Linked DNA regions of Homo sapiens: regions 1, 3, 4, 5 and 6 are each linked to region 2. Evidence: promoter capture Hi-C in 16 types of primary human blood cells and fetal thymus (Javierre and others, 2016). All regions are on one chromosome and are shown on one strand. The core of a region is centred on a gene start or on the middle of the fragment in contact, and the rest is flanking DNA. Distances in the headings are between cores, read along the strand shown. Region 1 overlaps SMG6 (SMG6 nonsense mediated mRNA decay factor). Region 2 holds the start of OVCA2 (OVCA2 serine hydrolase domain containing). Region 3 has its middle 78 kb from the start of RPA1. Region 4 overlaps SMG6 (SMG6 nonsense mediated mRNA decay factor). Region 5 overlaps SMG6 (SMG6 nonsense mediated mRNA decay factor). Region 6 overlaps RPA1 (replication protein A1).

Evidence for each region. Contacts are between HindIII fragments. The CHiCAGO score rates a contact against its expected background, and 5 or more counts as called.
Region 1: a contact is called between a fragment that was not itself captured here and the fragment with the promoter of OVCA2 in region 2, in 11 of 17 cell types (endothelial precursors, M1 macrophages, megakaryocytes and 8 more). The highest score is 15.1, in endothelial precursors.
Region 3: a contact is called between a fragment that was not itself captured here and the fragment with the promoter of OVCA2 in region 2, in 4 of 17 cell types (endothelial precursors, M2 macrophages, M0 macrophages and 1 more). The highest score is 7.8, in endothelial precursors.
Region 4: a contact is called between a fragment that was not itself captured here and the fragment with the promoter of OVCA2 in region 2, in 15 of 17 cell types (naive CD4 T cells, total CD8 T cells, endothelial precursors and 12 more). The highest score is 14.7, in naive CD4 T cells.
Region 5: a fragment that was not itself captured here is called in contact with the fragment with the promoter of OVCA2 in region 2 in 14 of 17 cell types (endothelial precursors, total CD8 T cells, activated CD4 T cells and 11 more); the score reaches 12.8 in endothelial precursors.
Region 6: a fragment that was not itself captured here is called in contact with the fragment with the promoter of OVCA2 in region 2 in 8 of 17 cell types (naive CD4 T cells, total CD8 T cells, activated CD4 T cells and 5 more); the score reaches 8.5 in naive CD4 T cells.

Annotation. Positions count from the first base shown.
Region 1 is chr17:2,175,743-2,179,357 of GRCh38, forward strand. All of the region lies in intron 12 of SMG6 (SMG6 nonsense mediated mRNA decay factor), which reads right to left. Among named protein-coding and RNA genes, the nearest start is that of SMG6-AS1, 88 kb to the left of the region's middle. RefSeq lists enhancers at 736-2,200, 2,962-3,615. The HindIII fragment of the contact is 2,294 bases long and covers 477-2,770 here.
Region 2 is chr17:2,040,772-2,044,310 of GRCh38, forward strand. OVCA2 (OVCA2 serine hydrolase domain containing) reads left to right here and starts at 1,251. Exons shown (of 2, transcript NM_080822.3): 1 at 1,251-1,460; 2 at 1,834-2,654. The coding sequence starts at 1,277. The coding sequence ends at 2,333. It overlaps DPH1 (diphthamide biosynthesis 1), which reads left to right. Exons shown (of 13, transcript NM_001383.6): 10 at 332-410; 11 at 710-850; 12 at 997-1,104; 13 at 1,834-3,127. The coding sequence ends at 1,086. RefSeq lists silencers at 754-843, 1,354-1,553 and an enhancer at 1,104-1,163. The HindIII fragment of the contact is 21,411 bases long and covers 1-3,539 here.
Region 3 is chr17:1,906,137-1,909,382 of GRCh38, forward strand. No RefSeq gene overlaps it. Among named protein-coding and RNA genes, the nearest start is that of RPA1, 78 kb to the left of the region's middle. RefSeq lists enhancers at 1,024-1,532, 1,533-2,040. The HindIII fragment of the contact is 5,203 bases long and covers 1-3,246 here.
Region 4 is chr17:2,264,684-2,267,982 of GRCh38, forward strand. The region is part of intron 8 of SMG6 (SMG6 nonsense mediated mRNA decay factor); the gene reads right to left. Among named protein-coding and RNA genes, the nearest start is that of SMG6, 37 kb to the right of the region's middle. RefSeq lists enhancers at 1,224-1,433, 2,324-2,613. The HindIII fragment of the contact is 2,607 bases long and covers 405-3,011 here.
Region 5 is chr17:2,194,710-2,198,189 of GRCh38, forward strand. All of the region lies in intron 10 of SMG6 (SMG6 nonsense mediated mRNA decay factor), which reads right to left. Among named protein-coding and RNA genes, the nearest start is that of SMG6-AS1, 110 kb to the left of the region's middle. RefSeq lists an enhancer at 1-473. The HindIII fragment of the contact is 921 bases long and covers 1,005-1,925 here.
Region 6 is chr17:1,874,576-1,878,207 of GRCh38, forward strand. RPA1 (replication protein A1) reads left to right here. Exons shown (of 17, transcript NM_002945.5): 7 at 1,086-1,218; 8 at 2,637-2,739. Among named protein-coding and RNA genes, the nearest start is that of RPA1, 46 kb to the left of the region's middle. The HindIII fragment of the contact is 1,687 bases long and covers 1,021-2,707 here.

The sequences.
Region 1 (3,615 bases), core at 374-2,873, 140 kb after region 2:
AAATAAAAGTGGTCCAAGAGCCAAGCTAGACTGTGCAGAACCAAGGAAATACACAAAATGCTTCAATGAGAGGTCACTTCTGCTCTGGTTAATTCAAATTGGTCTTGTGCTCTGATTGTGAGTAGCTGCCTTCTTCTGGTGTTTCAGTGGGATCACCCAAACTCAGTTCACATTCATATCATCAGTTATCTCCTTTCATCGAACACCACAGACATGAACACAACACAACTACCCAGAGACCCATGGGCGACACAGTGACTCTCTACAGGAGTGAGGGAGTGTCAGGAAACTCAAAGGAAGAGGTGCTTTGAAAAACCAGGTGAGATGTCTGAACTCAAAAGTTAAGATATTTGCAAAAGGATGAGGTAATTCCTGGAAGCTGGGCAACATCACCTCAGCTTACCCCAATCAGGCCTCTGGGCTGGGAGGTCAGTTCTGTGGGTGCACATAGGATTTCCTGTCTGTAGAAGGAGAAAAGCTTAGCTTTTTCCTGCTTTAATTCCTCATCCCAACCAGGAGCACCTTCTAGCCTTCACCCGACAGCAGCCCTTAGGCCCTATGGATTCAAGGTTGGCCAGGGCCAAGGAGCCAAAAGTCAAATTCGGGTGGCGATGAGGATCTGTAAACAGCTGCCAATCTTTTGGAAATGCTTGGGAAATAACTTCCCAGAAGGTTTCCCAAATAATCTCAAACAACTTTTGATTCTAAATGGACCCTCTAGAGTGCTGTGGACTCATGCAGGTCCTTCTGGTTTGTTCTGGTTCAATGCATATTTTAGGGAAATTCCCAGAGTCCACAATATCCCGCTAAAGTTAGGGTGGACTGTTCACCAAGCAGACACAAAGCAGCCAGAGAATACGCAACTGTGTCCAATGAGCCTGCTTATGGCTCCCAGAATGATGGCCAGGGAGTCTCTCAGCAGCTGTGATGTGATTAGAGAGCAGGGATCAGCAGTTGCAAGGTGACCCACTGGCCCAACCCCACAGAACACACCACACACCAGGACGGCAGAGCCCTGGCTGGAGTCGGAAAGCCAGATCCGAGTTTGGGACAAACCAGCAGTGACTAGTTACAAGTATGCACTCAGAACCAAGGCTCACTTGCTTCCCTACAGACATGCATTCACTTAGTCCACCAGGAAAGGAAAAAAATAAGAGTTAATTTACTTTTTATTGCCTCAGAATTCCAAGGTTTAATGTATCTGTCAGTTTGAGTGCAGTGCAGCTGCTGGCCGATACAATGCAGCCCAGGCCAGCCCAGGTGACTGGGGAAACACATTTCACAGAAACAAACCAACACACACTCCTGGCTGGTTGTTTGGGGGATATTGACTCCGGAATCAGATTAACCCTTCAGGCTGAGGTGAGTTCTGCAAATAGCTGTAGAAAGGCAGCTGACGTCCAGGGAACTGAGAAGCCCTGCTCTCAGAGGGGCCATGGGTTTCTGTGTTCCTAAAATTTTGCTTTTCTCACAGGAGAGGTTACCCAACTGCAGCATCCTCTGACAGATTAAGGTATGCCAGGTGAGACACGTCACACCACAATAATCTACCTTCTTGCCCAGAACTCAGAAAGGCAGTCTGCCAGCTTCATAGGGAAGGAGTCAGGCAGGACTTTTTCTGAAAGCTCCACTGGGGCAGGACTGAGAGGAGGAGAGAGTCTGAAAAGAGTGGAGCACCAACGCCTGACCAAGACTCAGTCCATCTTCCTGGCAAGTCTAAGGAGGATGAGGCACTCACACACTCCTTCATATTTTACTGGGGGAACAAGCTGACTGGTGATTAACATCAAGTACAATGACCCCATGTTACAAGCCTGCTGGGGCCTGTGGAGGTGGCCATTTCCTGTGTAATACCAGCTTGTTTAAACACTAACATTCAAACTCCACAGCTGCAGAACAAACCCGGAAAGAGTTGAGTGAGAAGAAGCCGTGCATTGTGTTTCAGAGCTATGGAAGATCAGAGAAGCAGTACAGATGGGAAACAAGTTGGGTCTTCTGGTTCCTGGAGTGAGGAGATCTGGAAATACAGCCAAGATGGCACAGAAGCTAGGCACAAAGAAGCTGAAAAAGAGGACACCCATGTGGTACAGACACAAAGACAAATGGCTGTAACAAGAGAACCACGCCTAAGACATGCAATATCTGCCTTTTCAAACGGTTTCCCTGTGGGCCATTATATCCTAGCCTACAACTGTCCACGCAGGGGTCAGAGGCTAACATAAGACCACTGTTGCCCTGGAGAGCTTCTCACTCCACTGGAGAAAACTGCAGGAATTCAGCAGCTAATAGCAGAAATGGACTTGAATCCAATAAGTGTGGCAGAGTTAAAAGAATAATACCCGGGCTTGAAATGGCTTAGCATGCCTCTTGGAAAGCCAAGATGTCATGCCAACTCTGTTTGCATTGGGCGAAGGATTTGATTCTGGTACCTCAGTGCTAGGTAGCTCAAGAGGCCCTGGGCTGGGCTGGAGATGGGGAGAATTCTATGCGGCTCCTGGAGATTTCTAGCAACAATGTGTCATCCAGATGCCACATGATACAAAGAAGAGACAAAGGTATCAAAGGCCACCATTCCAGGAGTTAAGATATGAGCAGCAAGACACCATCCTCTAAGAATAAGAGATGTTTGCTGGGTGACCCCTAAAGAGACCAGACTTAGATGAAGGTAATCCCTTCTATCTTTCTCATTTATACCAACAAGTCGACTTGGGACTTTGGGAGAGTACTCACCCTAAATCAATTTTGCCCAAAAGGGCAAATCAAATTCTGAAGCTTAGTCATCCTGCCCTACTGCAAGAATATAAACCTCTCCATGTTCTAAGCAGGGCAGCTGGAACCCTATGGCCAGCAATAGGTCACAGTAACCTCGTTCCAGGATTTCTCAAGTATCAGAGCACCTCAACCATCCACTGCCCCCAATATGTTCGGGGTCGGCGCCTTATTTGATTTCAGTTCTCCAAAGCCACCCTCATATGTATAGCCTCTGTCATATCACTATGGTGTGCTAAACCCATCAGCACTGTATGTTTGGGAAAGAGCAGCCCCTAGGGGATCCTGACATCTCCACGGCATGAGTGGAGCCCTCGGCGGCCTCCCTGGTGCGGATTCTCACGGTTCCTGCCTCTCCAAACTTTTAGCTGTAACCACTCCAACACGTCTTCTTAGCTTAGCACACACTGGACCCAAATAACCTCAGCTCAGAGCTGGAAAGTACTCTCCCTGGGGTCAGCTGCTGTACCCTGCTGGGGTCAGACTGGAGCCTTAGGCCAACACCCCTTCCTCTCACAAGGAGTCCTACGGGAGGCGTGGGGAGGGGACAGGGGCTCCTGCCGTGGGAGAGATCACGTGTGCCCCACACTCAGCACTTGGAGGAAGAGGAACCCCCTGGTGCCAGGCTGCAGTGCTAACGCCCCAACCCGGAGCCAGGGAGACTGGGTGGGGAGCCAGGGTAGCAAAGGGGCTTCCCACAGCCACCACCACTTCCTTCAGGGAAGTGCTGATGGACTATTACTCAGTGACCTCCTAAAATGCCCTTTTGGGAAGGCATATTAAGTGTCCTTGAAGGGGTGCCGATTAGCCTTGGGATTAGTTCTTATTTCAGAGCTGCCCTATGAA
Region 2 (3,539 bases), core at 1-2,500:
TTTGGGGCTCAGAGGCAATGGCAACATCACATTTGTCCTTGTGAGATGAGTTTGAGCGGTGGCTGACACCTGCCCTGTACCAGGTACTAAATGTGGTTCTGGGGATACTATCACCAGTGAGCTGCCCTGGAAAGCTCATTGTCGGCAGAGGAAACAGGAGAAAACACGCAACAATACAGTATTCCAAACAGCAGTGGGTCACTGTCTTTACTTTAGGATTCATAAAGCCTGTTAATGAATGGGTGTGCTGGGGGCACTGTCATGTTCTTCAGCATGCTGCCTGGGCGACGAGGAGGCCCTTCCTAGGGTCTGACCTGGCTTCCCTTCCCAGGTGGGTGCAGGTGGCATGTCCACGTCTCTCCATTGACTGGGGCACAGCCTTCCCCAAGCCGCTGCTGACACCCTATGAGGTAACACCAAGCTCTGGGAGAGAGTGGGCTTTGGACGTGGTTCTCAAAGGTGAGGTCTGGAGTGGAGTGGGGTGGGTGGGCAGCACTTCGTTATGTTCGTAGATTCCGGAGTCTGTCTCGATTTCTCCAGCGGAGTCACTTCCTAGCTGTGTAGCCTTAGGCAAGGCCCTGAACCACACAGTTCCCTTCTGTGGCAGGGGACAGTGTGCCCTTCACAGGCCGTCGTGAGGACTGAATTCAGTAATCCAGGGGCAGAAAAACACTGGCAGATGTTATTGTCCCTCCCTCCCCTCCCCTAGGCGGCCGTGGCTCTGAGGGACATTTCCTGGCAGCAGCCCTACCCGATGGACTTCTACGCTGGCAGCTCCTTGGGGCCCTGGACGGTGAACCACGGCCAGGACCGCCGTCCCCACGCCCCGGGCCGGCCCGCGCGGGGGAAGGTAGGCGGGGGCTTCCAGGAGGGAGGAGAGACCGCGCCTGGGCACTGGCCGCCGCCCTGCGACCGCGACGGGAAACGCACAGGAGCGGAGCGGAGGGAAACGCAGGGTCGCAGGAGCGAGACCCTAACCAAAGTCTGCGACCTCAGGTGCAGGAGGGGTCCGCGCGTCCCCCTTCGGCCGTGGCTTGCGAGGACTGCAGCTGCAGGGACGAGAAGGTGGCGCCGCTGGCTCCTTGACGCGCTCCCGGGCCTCAGGTATCAGCCCCCGCTCTGGGTGCGCCCCGCCTTTTGCCGTTGTCATGGGAACGCCTTGGCGCTCCGAGGCCCGCCCTCGGGGCGGTGCTGACGTTCGGTTCCGCCCCGTGCATTGTGCTTCCGCTCGGGGAAAGACCGCTTCCGGTGCTTCCGTCGCTCCTTGCCGGGCATAATGGCCGCGCAGCGACCCCTGCGGGTCCTGTGCCTGGCGGGCTTCCGGCAGAGCGAGCGGGGCTTCCGTGAGAAGACCGGGGCGCTGAGGAAGGCGCTGCGGGGTCGCGCCGAGCTCGTGTGCCTCAGCGGCCCGCACCCGGTCCCCGACCCCCCGGGCCCCGAGGGCGCCAGATCAGACTTCGGTGAGACAAGCCCCGCTCCGGAAACGCACTCAGTTTCCTCCATCTTGTTTCGTCCCCCTCGACACCCTTCAGCATCCCCCACCCTGCGTCCACCCGCATTCCTCCCACCCAGTCCACACCCTTCATTTCTCGCGACCCATACCCTCTTTGCTCAAACTGCAGCCTGTCCTCCCAGGCTTCCGCCTTCACCGTCTTCCTCCGCTGTCTCCTGTTCAGGCCAATCCACTCATTTCCCCCCTCTCATTTCCCCCAGACTTTTGCCTCGATTCCCTTTTTCTCTCTGTCATCTCGAACCCTCCTGCCCTTTCTCATTTCTTTCCTTCCTGGAGCCTCCCATGCCCTAATCCCATCCTTTTTCCTCATATCGCTGTAGGGTCCTGCCCTCCGGAGGAGCAGCCTCGAGGCTGGTGGTTTTCAGAGCAGGAGGCCGACGTTTTCTCCGCATTGGAAGAGCCCGCCGTCTGCAGGGGCCTGGAGGAATCACTGGGGATGGTGGCACAGGCACTGAACAGGCTGGGGCCTTTTGACGGCCTTCTTGGTTTCAGCCAAGGGGCTGCGCTAGCAGCCCTTGTGTGTGCCCTGGGCCAGGCAGGCGATCCCCGCTTCCCCTTGCCACGGTTTATCCTCTTGGTGTCTGGTTTCTGTCCCCGGGGCATTGGGTTCAAGGAATCCATCCTGCAAAGGCCCTTGTCATTGCCTTCGCTCCATGTTTTTGGGGACACTGACAAAGTCATCCCCTCTCAGGAGAGTGTGCAACTGGCCAGCCAATTTCCCGGAGCCATCACCCTCACCCACTCTGGTGGCCACTTCATTCCAGCAGCTGCACCCCAGCGTCAGGCCTACCTCAAGTTCTTGGACCAGTTTGCAGAGTGAAAGATCAAGAAATGTCTCTGCTCCTACATCCAGCTCCTCTAGGGGCAGCCTCCGTCATCCATGCCCTCCCAGGACCCTCCACTCACTGCTGTGAGTGCGCCTCACCAGAACCAGTTAAGAGACAACTATCAATTCTTGAGACCCAAATTATAAGGGCCCTGCCCTGTACTGAAGAAAAGGGGAGCACAAGGCCTTAATGGACATTGACTTGTGAAAACGCAAACATGAATATGGTTGGAGAGCCCTGGATTAGGAGGGTGACATGGGGAAGGCAGAGGCTGGCACCATGGTGACTGCCACATAATAAAGTGGTGATTTGGATTTTGAGCATCTTTTTCCTGGTACACACAGAAAAACATTTTATAATGGAAGTCGGTTTCTTGGCCATCTACATAGTTTTCTGGGCAGCGCCAAGCAGGGAGGTGTCTCCAGTTGTGAGTCCTCGGACAGGCTGCTGCATGGGTGCACATACTCACGTTATTGGTGGAAGTTTTAAGTCCCAAACTGAAGGGAAGGAGGCCTAGGTGGCACAATCAGGGAGGAATATACATCTGAGAAGTTTTGGGAAGACATCACCTGGCAAGGCTGCCTGAACCACAGTAATTTAGTCTTCCTCTATCCAGATCACTGAGAGTTGTGTGCTGGTCTTCTCTCAAACCCTGGATGTGTTACCTGCTTCTCCCTAAGTGCTCTAACCTCGCTGAACTATGAGCCTGAAGGGTGGGTCGATGCCAGACCTTAGGTGGAGGCCAAAGACAGTACAGAATAAACAGCTTCTTCCTAAATTGACCCCATCTTGAGGGTTTCTGAGATTGATGCCATTCTTTAGTGACTACAGCCAAGGCCTAAGCAATCCAGCTGGTTTTCCCCTTGGGGCGTGTAGTTGTTCTTGGATACTTTGAGGATTGCTCACTCTTTTTTTTTTTTTTTTTGAGACAGGCTCACTCTGTCACCCAGGCTGGAGAGCAGTGGCCAAGATCCTGGCTCACTGCAACCTCAGCCTCCTGGGTTCAAGCAGTTCTGTCTCAGCCTCCTGAGTAGGTGGCGTTACAGGCATGCGCCACCACGCCTGGCTAATTTCTATATTTTTTTGTAGAGATAGGGTTTTGCCACGTTGCCCAGGCTGGTCTCAAAACTCTTTAGCTCAAACAATCCACCTGCCTCAGCCTCCCAAAGTGCTAGGATTATAGGCCTGAGCCACTGCAC
Region 3 (3,246 bases), core at 31-2,530, 130 kb before region 2:
AGTCCAGTGAAGGAGAGCGGACAGTCTGGTGGAGGCAGACAAAAAACCTATGAGTTGTCATCGTGAAGTTGCAAAAAAGGGATTGGCTGGCCGGGCGCAGTAGCTCACGCCTGTAATCCCAGCACTTTGGGAGGCCGAGGTGGGTGGATCACCTGAGGTCGGGAGTACAAGACCAGCCTGACCAACATGGAGAAACCCCGTCTCTGCTAAAAATACAAAATTAGCCGGGGTGGTGGTGCATGCCTGTAATCCCAGCTACTCGGGAGGCTGAGGCAGGAGAATCGCTTGAACCCAGGAGACGGAGGTTGCAGTGAGCCGAGATCGCGCCATTGCACTCCAGCCTGGGCAACAAGAGCGAAACTCCGTCTCAAAAAAAAAAAAAAAAAAAAAGGATCGGCTGGAAGAAAAGTCCATTTCAAACTGAAGGACTGGCACGTTGCTCAGGAGCCAGTAAACCAGGTGCAGGTGATACCAAGAAAATTAGCTTGGTTTGAGTGGTGAGTCTTTGTAGAAAAATAAATGAGATTGCTGCACACTGGGAGGGCGGCCTGGATCTTCATTTCCTTGGAGCTTAAGACTTAAGCCCTGTGGAATGTAAGTCCTAGGAGTGTCCTTTGTCACTAATTGATCTTTCAGCTGCTCATAGAGCTGGCATTCTTGCAGGCCAGGTACACGAGAAGATAGAGCCGGAGCAGCCTGCCTCCGCTTAGCCAACTGCATAGCTGAGGAAATCCTGCCGGGCATGTTATTGGAGGGTTGTGCACTCTATTCCTCACGAGCTTCGTGCTGGGATGCTCATTTTCTCTGGACAAAGATAGACTGGCTCCCTCTCTTGTTGATGGAATGGAAATTCTCTCTTGCATTATGGTTTCTGTGATAACTTTGGTGGCGGTGGTGTGGGGATAATGAAGAGTCTCTTAATGGCTCTAGTTAAACCTGGTAATATCACTCTATCACACTGGAGCCGGCCGTGGGAATCTAACCCACTTTTGTATTCCTAAACGCCTAAAACCTGCCACTGGCATCTTCGCATAATAAGGAACCAGTCATCGCTCGTCTGTGTCCTGGAACATATTTATAAGCCTATGTTAATTTCTGGACTCCGGAATGGCGCCTCTTCCAATCCCAGCCCTCGGTCAGTCTCTCCGGATAGACTTGGGAAGTCAGGTCGTTTCAGCCACACATCACCATTCTCCGTCCCTGAGCCCGGCATGCTGGTTTAGTGCCCCCAAAGGAAGAGAACTCATTTTATTCTGGAAATTGGGAAAGTGAATTTGCTTCAGGACCTGCCTAGGTCTAATTAGTCCAGTCCGTAAGCAGGCCTGGCTCCGTGTCTGAGGCATGCGTGCACGTGGATGGTGTGTGTGCACACGTGTGTGTGGCATGTGCACGTGTGTGCCCTGGCAGCCACTATAACGTGCCCGGCAGTGGCCGCTGTTCGCCCAGGTTGGCCCAGTTCAGTCCTGCTTCTCAGGGTGGCTGGTAGATGTGGCCACCTTACAACCCCCAAAAGCCTTCCATGTGCACCCCCAACCCCCAAAAGCCTTCCATGCGCACCCCCAAATGGAGAAGGGGCCGGGTGGGGTGTCATTAGGAGATGGGGGCCACGTGCCAAGACAGAGGAAGGGGAAATGGGGAGAAAACAACAAGAAAAGGAATAGGTGGGGAGAGAGGTCATTTTAACCTAAATTAAATAATGGAAATGACCATTATGAACACAACGAGGGCAGGGATTCCGTAGCCAGAGCTGCGAGACCGTGACAAATGGCTCTCCAGGGAAACGGGGTGCAGCCTCCTCTCCTGGAAGTCAGGAAAGGGGTCTCTCCACCAACCAGGGGCGGGAGGCAGAGCCTGCGCTGCCGGATTTAGCCTGGAAGTTAAAATCGCTGAAGCAGTTTATAGAAACAGCAGAGTGAGCCGCCGCGCACAATCAGTAGGCAGGATCCAGAGACGATGGCATAAATGTTTCAAATGTGCTCAGGGTAATTAGTTTTGAATTACCATGTGCATATTTTAAACATTTAAATGATCATCCCAGGTTTTCGAAAACAGTTGCACGCGGCTTGATGTCACCTCCCCTCCCGGGCGGCCTCCCCAAGGGGACACAGCCAGGTGGGGCCTGCGGGTCCCGCGACCTCAGCCGGGGAGGGGCGCGCGCTAAGCCCGGGGATCAGCGCGGATTAGGCCGCAGCCCCGAGTCCTGGAGCAGCCGCTCGCCCGGGACTTCCCGTCCTCCAAGCCTGCGTCGGCTGTGCCAGGTTTTCAAGACGATCTGCTCAGCGTTTAGGTTTCCCATTGTGCATGAAAATGCAATTCCACGCGGGCAGTTTTTCTCCCCCGTTTGATTTCCTGGAGACCCGGGTGGCTGGGAAACTTGAAAGGTGACTGGCCAGGTGGGAACCGCGTTTGGTGTTTGAAGCCAGCCACCTTGTCCGCCAGTCTCTCGAGGCGACCTGCCTTGCAGCAACTCCATTCTCCCTGGGGTTCGACTCAGAATGCAAACGACGATTTCCAAATTCCCTAATTCCGGAGGCGCTGGGAGGGGCGAAGGTGTCAGGCCTGGACCCCCACCCCCCGCCCGCGCCTTCCCTGCCGGCTGCAGGGGCGGATCCAGGCTGCGCCCTGGGGTGTCTCACAGAGGCCCTGTCGGCGGGGCGCGGCGGGTCGGGGTGTCTAAAGTCAGATCCCTAACTTCAGACACCCGAATTTAGCATCGTGGCTTAGAAACGCTGCCCTGTGTCCCCTTCCTCCCGGTTACAAGCTGTTTCTCCAGCAGGTGGAGCTGGGAGAATAAAAACTATGAGCCTGTGCCTGGGACCTTGCAGAGGGAGCTATCTGTGCTGAAATCCTGGTTGAATGAAAATTGTTCATTATGCAAACTGTCTGGTTCAGTACACAGAGGCAGCCCCCAGGCGCAAACCCCAAGTAGCTGCTTCTTCTCTCCCCAGATTAAAACATATGAACTGCTTTGATGTAATCTTATAACAAAGCCTAATAGAAATTTTATTTCTTTGAAGTTGCCTGTCATTTCTTATTGCCCCCCTTCTCCCGTCCTATTAATACCCGTACAGTCTGGGATATGCAGCCGAGTTTAGACTGTATTTGACGATGGGAACAGTGTGTTTTCCTCGGCAGTGGTCTGAGTTATTTAAATGCAGTTACATTGCTTGCAATATGTTTAATCTCTTGGGCTTCCCCCCCGCCCACTGCTATTTATCATGTTAATAGAATGCTACAGAATATCAC
Region 4 (3,299 bases), core at 458-2,957, 220 kb after region 2:
TTGAGCCCAGGAGTTTGAGACCAGCCTGACCCACATGGTGAAACCCCGTCTCTACGGAAAATACAAAAATTAGCTGGGCATGGTGGTGTGTGCCTGTAGTCCCAGCTACTCAGGAGGCTGGGAGGGGAGGATTGCTTGAGCCCAGGAGGCGAAGGTTGCAGTGAGCTGAGATCGCGCCACTGCATTCCAGCCTGGGTGACAGAACGAAACCCCATCTCAAAAAAAAAAAAAAAATTTCCTTAAAATCTTGTATTCCACCCTACTGAAAACTCTCCCTATTCCACTAGCTACTCAAATTCTCTCACTATTGTTAATCCCTAGGCCATCAAGATCCAAATCCCAAGTCAGGTTCTCTGAGAGGAAATGAAGGAGTAAACCTTAACAAAATGTTTTTGACCTTGTCAAGCTTCAAAAGTAGTGGTTCTCAACCAGAATATGACCACCCATCCCAGGAACTGTTTGGAAGTATGTGTGGGCCGTTACTGGCATCTAATGAGCAGAGCCAGGAACGCTAAACATCCTGCAAGGTCAGACCTGCATAATGAAGAACTGTCGGCCGGGCACAGTGGCTCAAGCCTGTAATCCCAGCACTTTGGGAGGCTGACCACCTGAGGTCAGGAGTTCGAGACCAGACTGGCCAACATGGCGAAACACCATCTCTTCTAAAAATACAAAAATTAGCAGCGGGTGGTGACAGGAGCCTGTAGTCCCAGCTACTGGGGAGGCTGAGGCAGGAGAAACGCTTGAACCTGGGAGGCGGAGGTTGCAGTGAGCTGAGATTGCGCCACTGCACTCCAGCCTGGACAACAGAGCAAGACTGCCTCTCAAAAAAAAAAAACTGTCTGCTTAAAAGGCGATAACATTCTCATTAACAATCAATTTCCTAACAGAAGAACCTTATCATTAACTGCATTCACCTCTCCCAGCTTTTACAGCAGTGGTAAATTTTTTCTGTAAAAGGTCACAGAAAATAATTTAGGCTTCGTGAGCCACGTACATCTCTGTCTCGTGTTGCTCTTTTTAAACAACTCCTGACATAAGAATGTAAAAACCATTCTTAGCTCATAGGCCACTGGCAATATTTTGCCCATCCCTGTTCTAGGGTATTACCTGAATCATTAGTCTGTTTATATTAATTTAGAGATGCTGGTTAAAATAAAGTGTGATGGAGTATGCTATAAACAACACCAATAATGCATATGACAATCTTAAAGAATGAAATATGAACTTCAGAACTTAGCCTTACCACCTAAGAACTGGTGCATGTGTTGGGCTTCTAATCACCTCTCATTCTCGTCCCCTGTGCATTTCAGGTGCTTTAGGTTTTCTTCTGAATGTTCATTTTCAAACACTTTACCAGGAAGAGCACAGAAATGCCTTTCCCCCCTCTTCAGGATCTAGTACTTTCTGTTCACCATGCGTGCCACTCAAAGTCTTTTACAATTATTGCTGTTAACATCTTCTAAAATGTCTAAACCAAACCAAGGCCTGGAAATTCTGACGGGTATCTGGGTCCTGACTTTCCGGATGGTAACTAAAGGTCACGTGGGGTGGAAAGTGGCCTGTGGGTAACACAGAATATACACACGCACGCGAACAGGATATGCTGGTAATCCGGCTTCCTGAGACCTGGTGAGTTTTGAGAGTTCTCATCAACACTCTCGGGGAGGATGAAAAACCTTAAGCTGGGAAATGGCAGATTTTAAGCAAGTGCTCATTGTTAGATCTCTGTCTACAGCAGAATGGGAAGGTACACCATTTACTCCTCTATATTTTATTTGCCTAAAAACACAATACACAAAAAATAAACAAAGTGACTACTGAGAGAGGTTTCTTCAGTGTGGAAGCTGGCGTTTGCAGCATGGCTTATGTCACGTCTCAACCCCAGAAAGATGAAGAGTGTGGTTTTGGTGTTTAACCAGCCTCAGCAGCACCCTGGCACTCTGTTTCTTCCCCCAGAGAACTCTGCTCTGTTAGAGGAAAGAAACCAACCTCACATATTGAAACAAAACGGATAGGATAAAAATAAAGCCCTGAAGTGGTTTGGTGACCGAGGTCATTTGGGGCATTAAGGGTTTATAGGTAGGGCTGATGTACTTTGAGAAACTTGCACTCACTACCAACCACAAAGACATTAGCCTTACAGTCCAGCAGTGATCTGGACAAAGCAGCCCCAATCCTTGCCTACCAGGGGCTGCTCCTTGCAACCCACCTCACATTATCAACATCTGAAAAACCCGGTTCTGGTTCTGACCTTCTTTGAGGATCCCACTAAGCTGTTTCTCATGGCCTAAGAAAAAGAAAACCAATCTGCTTCTTCCCACAGAAAGAGGCTCTAATGAACTGCTGTCATCACGTGCTGCCAAACTGCAGTTCACACACTTTTCAAATAGCTTCCAGAGTGAAGAGTACAGCCTGAGGTACATATTGCAAACTACTTTACAAAAGCATAGGACTAATTAAAGACATGAAGTCAACTCACAAAAACCCTAAAAAATTTTCTGATGCCCACCTTACAGATACGGAATCTTTTTCTTTTGAGGCAGGGTCTCACTCTGTAACCCAGGCTGGAGTGAAGTGGAGCAGTCAAGACTCACTGCAGCCTCAACCTTCCAGACCAGAGTATTCTCCCACCTCAGGCTCCCGAGTAACTAGGACCACCCACCACACCTGGCTAATTTTTTTTTTTTAGTAGAGACAGGGTATCCCTACGTTGTCAAGGCTAGTCATGAATGAACTCCTGGATTCAAGCAATCCTCCTGCCTCAGCCTCCCAATGTGCCGGGATTATACCGGCGTTGAGTCACTGTTCCCAGCAAGATATGGAGTCTTTATATCCATGAGGCCAAAAAATTAAGCTGGCTTTCTCTGTCATGATGATATAATTATGAGACAATGAAATAACTGGGTTATCACAGATAAAGCACTTACCTACTAGTGCAGAGACTCAACTATTCTTTATCATTATAGATTAAATCAGTGCTTGTGCTATCCAGAGAGAACCAGGCCAAAAGCTTTCTTTTTTAATGTATTTACTTATTTATGTATTTTTAATTATTTTTATTATTATTTTTTTTTTTTTTGAGACAGAGTCTCGCTCTGTTGCCCAGGCTGGAGTGCCGTGGCGCGATCTCGGCTCACTGTAAGCTCCACCTCACAGGTTCAAACCATTCTCCTGCCTCAACCTCCCGAGTAGATGGGACTACAGGCGCCTGCCACCACACCCGGCTAATTTTTTGTATTTTTAGTAGAGACGGGGTTTCACCGTGTTAGCCAGGGTAGTCTCGATCTCCTGACCTC
Region 5 (3,480 bases), core at 215-2,714, 150 kb after region 2:
AACAAAAAAAAAAAGAAAGAAACATCAAAAGAGGCTGGAGATAATGCTGTTGAGGGGGTACGTAGGGGTGAAGACTGCTGGAGCAGGTCAAAGACTCTCACGTGTATTCTCGGCAGGTTCCAGAGGATCCTGAAAACTCAAGAAGAGTAACAACTCACCAAACAAGATCCAAGTAAGGGGGAAGAAACTCAGGACTGCAAAACACCTGGAGGGAGAGAGGTATGTGTCAAGGAGTCCCCAGGCTCCCTCCCTCTTGGCTCTGGGCCAAGTCCTGTCTTTCCAGAACAAAGACACTTCAGGGGGTCAGAAATACTTGAGGAAGACCTAGCAAGAGGCGGCCTGGGAAGTCTGAACTGGTGCTCCCTGTGGAAGCCATTAGATATTCGGCACTTCATTTGTTTCCAATTCTTGTACGAGTACAGCTCCAGGCTGTGGGGTGACAGGCTCCTCTCTGACGTAATCAGGAAGCAGCTGCAAAATTAAGGAATCCCTCATGACATCATAAAAAGGGTCGATGGTTTACTGGGGAAAGTATAAAAATTAATTACATATTCCCACATGACACCCTTCCCCTAAATCTGTACACACCCTCTCCCACCTCCACACATTCTCTCATCAACAACATCCAGAAGCCACCTCAATGGACAGGGTACAAAAGGGCAAACAAAACCCAGAGAAGGTTCTTTGATGCACTCACACTGTCTGCCCACCTATTTGGAACTTAACAAGCAATACCTTGTCCTGGAATTGTTATTCATACAGTAGGTTTCCTCAACAGAATTATAAGCCCCTTGAGGGCAAGAGCTATGTCAAGACTTCACATCCTTGGAAATCAGCACCATAGAGAGGTTCAAGAAACATTTGCTGCTCATAATAGTAGGCACACTTGCCTCTCTCACTTTGGATCTAACCATGAATGACATGATTCCACTGTGGCCAGACATAATAACTAAGACATTTTGAGACCTATGTTAGGCAAACAATATTTATATATATTATCTCAAAGCTTTACAAAAGGATTGCCTGAGTATTATTCTCCTTTTTGACATTTGAGGAAACAGGCTCAGAGAGACTAAATGACCTGCCCAATAACACAAGGCTAGAAAGTGCCAGAGCTGGGATCTGAATCCAGTTCTGTCTGCTCTCATGCCCACATTGTTTGCATATCTGATTTTCACACGCCCGTGACTCAAGTGTCACACTCCCACTGCTCCTCTCTCCTTTGCTATGAACATGAAAAGCTCAGACTACTCCAACCACAGTGCTGCACAAAGAGCTCAGAGATGATGACTGTGTGGAAGCCAAAATGAAAAACATGCCATCGTTTACAATAGTGACAAAGAAAATGAAATATTCAGGTATAAGTCTAACAGAACGTACGGAAACGCTATGCTAAAAATCTGAAAATGCTGATGAAAATCAAAGACAAAGCCAGGCATGGTGACTCAACGCCTGTAAACCCAGCACTTCAGGAAGCTGAAGCGGGCAGATCACCTGAGATCAGGAGTTCGAGACCAGCCTGGCCAACATGGTGAAACCCTGTTTCTACTAAAAATACAAAAATTAGCTGGGCGTGGCGGCGCGTGCCTGTAATCCCAGCTACTCGGGAGGCTGAGGCAGGAGCAGGGGAATCACTTGAACCCAGGAGGCGGAGGTTGCAGTGAGCCGAGAATGCGTCATTGCGCTTCAGCCTGGGTGACAAACTCTGTCTCAAAAAAACAAAACCCAGAAAATAAAAGACAACCTAAAAACTGGGGAGAGTTACCATGTTCATGAACTGAGCAACTCAGCATTGTAGAGATGCCAGTTAATTGTTTAACGCAATTGCTATCAAAATCTTAGGAAGGTTTTATGTAGACAATAGATCTATAGGTTTAACGCAACAGCTATCAAAATCTCAGGAACGTTTCACGTAGATAAAGACAAGCTTATTCTAAAGCTTATCTGGAAAAGCAAAGGATGTAGAACATTTCAAACAATTCTGAAAAAGAATAAAGCGGGAGAAATCGTTCTCCCTGATGTTAAGTTAATGAAGAAAGGGGCCGGGCATGGTGGTTCATGCCTATAATCTCAGCAATCTGGGGGACCAAGGCAGGACTGCTTGAGATCAGGAGTTTGAGACTAACGTAAACAACATAGCAAGACCCCACCTCTTCTAAAATAAAATTAAAAGGAGGAATATCTTTTCAACAAATGGTACTGAAGCAATTAGACATCTGTATGCAAAAAAACAAAGCAATAAAACCTTGACCTAACTTTCACACTTATACAAAAATTATCTCATAATAGATCGAAGACTTATATATAAAACATAGGACCATAAAACTCTTAGAAAAAAATGGAAGAAAATCTTCAGGACCTAGGACTAAGAGTTCTAAGACTTAATGCCAAAAGTACAATCCATAAAAGGAAAAACTGATATACTGGATTTCATAAAAATTAAAAACTTTTGCACTGCAAAAGACCCTGTAAAAAGATGAAAAGGCAAATGATAGGCTAGGAAAATCTGTTTGTAAACCACATATCTGCCGAAGAACTAGTAACCAGATTACATATAAAACTCTTAAAACCTGGCCAGGCGCGGTGGCTCACGCCTATAATTCCAGCACGCTGGGAGGCCAAGGTGGGAGAATTGCTTGAGCCCAGGAGTCTGAGACCAGCCCTGGCAACATAGCAAGACTGTGTCTCTAAAAAAAAAAAAATTTAATTAGCTGGATGTGGTAACATTTGCCTGTAGTCCCAGCTACTTGGGAGGCAGAAGTGGGAGGATCACTTGAGCCTGGGAGGTCAAGGCTGCAGTGACCCGTGACAGTGCCGCTGCACTCCAGCCTGGGTGACAGAGACCCTGTCTCAAAAAAAACAACACATAAAGAAAAATAAACACAAACCAAAAAACAAAAAACCTCTCAAAACTTAACAGTAAGAAAACAACAATACATTTAGAAAATGGGCAAAAAAAAAGACAAACCAGATATTTCATCAAAGAGGATATACAAATAGAAAATAAGCACAAGCAAAGATGTTCAATATAATTAGCCATTAGGGAAATGGAAAATAAAACTACAGTGAGATCTCATTACATATCTATCAGAATGGCTAAAATAAAAAACAGTACCACCACCAAATATTGGTAAGGATGCTGGGAAATTGGATCACATGTACGTTGCTGATGGAATGTAAAATGGTATAGCTGCTCTGGAAAATAGTTTGGCAGTTTCTTCTAAAACTAAAAATGCACTTATGATATGATCCAGCAATTGAACTCTGGGGCTTTATCCTGAAGAAATGAAAACTTACGTTTAGAAAAAAAACCAGTATATAAATGTTCATAGCAGCTTTATTCATAATGGCCCCAAACTAGAAACAACCCAAATGTCTTTCCACAGGTGAATGGTTAAACAACTGTGGAATATCCGTACCAGGGAATACAGGGAATACTACTCAGCAATAAAAAGGAATGAACAACCAATACGTGCAGTG
Region 6 (3,632 bases), core at 614-3,113, 170 kb before region 2:
GGAGAAGCTACCCAGCATGAAATAGATTGGATGAATGGATGCTTGTGTGTGTTTTATAAAATTATATATTATGTATGGGTATACACATGTATTCTACAAAGTACCTGTGTGTCCTTACACGATCTTGAGGTAATTACTATTGTGTGTGTATTGATCTCTCTCGACTCCCCAGTTAGAAAATTTCAACACAGAAACACTCCTATGTATATTTTTTACTAATTACTACGAATGCCTAGAAGGGTGTGGCACATGCCGTGGAAACCCAGTAAATAAATACTGGATAGATGGTGTATTGATATTTTTAGCCAAATTCTATTCTGAAGAAATGTTTTGATGTAGAGGGTATGAAATCACTGAACTAAATTATATTTTCTGAATTTGGACGTTGAGTTTTGCAGATACGTGGTGCGTATAAAAGAACTCACCTGATTCCCTGTTCTTTCCCAGCGCAGGGCAGCTGCTTAGGTTTGGATTAAGGAGGCGGAAGGGTCTTAGTGGTCACCCACTTAACATATCTTGACCAAAAACTGATTCCTGCCCTTTGCACCCGACGAAACTCATTCTTACAGACTTCATTCTAGACTTGCTAGTCCTTCAGACGCATTGAGATCTGGGAGTTGTCTGGGGATTTGGAGGCGATCTATTTGTGATAGGTCCCTTACATCCTGTCTTTCTTCATGTGACTAGTGCCTTGCCATCAGTTTTACCAGTTACAAAAGTTGATTTTCTTTTTCTCACCCATTATCTTGCCCGTTGAGGCAAGAGAAGTGTTTAAGAGGGCGGCCTTCAGAAACAGCAGTGTCTGGATTCGTCACCATTATTACTTTGACCTCGGGGCTGACATCAGCAAACATAGCAGTGAGCTGCTGTGTGCGCAGCCTTCATCCTAGATTGCTTTTGTAGCCTCCAGCCTCAGTCTCTATTTGATCTGCGTATCTCTTGCATATAAAAAGGAAAAGCTTTGCCTCTCATGTTATATGATTTCACTAGTGGCACCTCCAAAATTTAGAGTTATTGTAAAGCTTACTATAAAAAAGCTAAGTAGAATAGTAATAACTCCTTTTCGTTTGCGTTTGTTTTTAAAGGTTCTACTGTTTCTAAGGCTTATGGTGCTTCAAAGACATTTGGAAAAGCTGCAGGTCCCAGCCTGTCACACACTTCTGGGGGAACACAGTCCAAAGTGGTGCCCATTGCCAGCCTCACTCCTTACCAGTCCAAGTGAGTTGTTGCATAGAGTAAGTTCAGAGTGTACTTATGAAATCGGAGAAGCTATTATGGACTCTTGAGTTATTTATGCGTGAACTTCAGGGTCACCACCAAATACCACCAAATAGAATGGGTTTACTCTTTTTTTTTTTTTTTTTTGCTGAGGAGGAAAGGGGTACAAATTGTGGCAAACTTTTAACTCTTGTTGGAAAATATAGTAACAATAGCAATCTGCCATAGCCTGTGGGGTTTCATTCATTTTGAAAGAATTTGAAATTAAAAATACTTAATGCTTAATCAGTTGATAGTCTTATGAGTAAAAATAAATATTTCTGATAATTCAAAAGGCATTTAATCTTCTCCTATAAACAGGTGACTTCGTCTTTGGTTTAGTTGGCTAAAATAATCTGCACTATTTGTATTAAACACATGAACATACCCTGAACATAAATTTCTTTTATATGACTTTTTTCCACCAAAAATTAATTTGAAGCCGGGCGCGGTGGCTCATGCCCGTAATCCCCGCACTTTAGGAGGCTGAGGCGGGTGGATCACCTGAGGTCGGGAGTTTGAGACCAGCCTGGCCAACATGGTGAAACCGTGTCTCTACTAAAAATACAAAAATTAGCCAGGTGTTGTGGAGCACGCCTGTAATCCCCGCTACTCAGGAGGCTGAGGCAGAAGAATCGCTTGAACCCAGGAGGCGGAGGTTGCAGTGAGCCAAGATTGTGCCACTGCCTTCCAGCCTGAGTAACAGAGTGAGATTCCGTCTCTCAAGATAAATAAACAAAATAAAGTAATTTGAATAGTTAAAAATTAGAGTTCTTTTTTCAGAATCCTTCCAGATATGTTTATATTTATTCTTCAATACTCTGTAACGTAGGAAAGATATTTTTCCCTGTGAAATTATAAGTGGGGTACCTAATGTGCCCTGTGCCTCCTTTTTCCATGCTTCTCTCTAAGGTCATGCTGCTTCAGTGTGTTCTTCCTGATGGTCCACCAACATCGTGTATTCTATTCAGGGTGTGTTACGAATGAGACAGAAGTGTAACACCAGTTATATCAGTTCCCATAATTGAAAACTGTGGCAAAATATAATTGCTGGTGTTACTGTATTTTCCAGCTTAGAACCTTTCATTAAGGGGATATGGTTGCCTTGGTGATGCTTTTTGGAGAAGGGAGAGAGTTTATAAATTTACTTATTTGACAGGAGAATGAGTTAGTATTAAATCACTTTGCATGTTTTACTATTTGCTTATTCTGTAAACTGTCAAACCCATGTGTCATCTTGGGGTTTTAATTAGCTGGATTAAAATACAGGTTGGAAAACGGAATATGCGTAAGACGAGAAAGGCTGTAGGAAGATGATTTCTTACTTGATCTTTTCCAAGGAAGACCCCATACACTAATATGATCGATTTGGTTTGTAGGTGGACCATTTGTGCTCGTGTTACCAACAAAAGTCAGATCCGTACCTGGAGCAACTCCCGAGGGGAAGGGAAGCTTTTCTCCCTAGAACTGGTTGACGAAAGTGTGAGTGTTTGTCATGCTGGGGAGTGAGGGCAGTGGGCTCGCCGGGAAACAGAAGGCTCAGCTCTGCGGAGGGCAGTGGGCTCGCTGGGAAACAGAAGGCTCAGCTCTGCGGAGGGCAGTGGGCTCGCCGAGAAACAGAAGGCTCAGCTCTGCGGGCCTATGAGGTGAAGAATAATAGTAGGCCAGAGAGAAGCATGATTGTTATTGTGCTTTTCCCTCTGTCATAGTCTTTTGATGCTGTCTGGAGTAGAGGGTTAAGGTCATAAATAAAATCTTTGATCTTAAATGACAGCGTTTGTAGCAGTAGAAAGTAGTTTTCTAAATATATAAGTAGCCTCCTGGGCAGGAGAAGCTGGAAACAGTCTGATTTGCTGGCAGGTGTACTGGAAGCACTGGGAGGTGATGCCTGCTTGTGAGCGCCGTGGAGCTTTGGGACACAGCAGAAGGCACACAGTTGTGACCTCGATATGGGAGTGGTTTTGTGGGAAATGGGTTCTGACTGTGCAGATTCTCTATTTGCTTTATTTAAACTAAACAAAACCATGACGATGAGACAAAATTCCTATGCCATGGAAGTACGACAGTCTTGATAGCTGTTAATCAGTCCATTCGTTTTGCTAATAATTCCTGAAATTGCCGGGTGTGGTGGCTCACGCCTGTAATCCCAACACTTTGGGAGGCCAGGGTGCACAGATCACTTGAGGTCAGGAGTTCGAGACCAGCCTGGCCAACATAGTGAAACCCCGTTTATACTAAAAATACAAAAATTAGCTGGGTATGGTGGCAGGTGCCTGTAGTCCCAGCTACTTGGGAGGCTGAGGCAGGAGAATCAATCGCCTGAACCAAGGAGGTGGAGGTTGGAGCCAGCCAAGATTGCACCACTGCACTCCAGC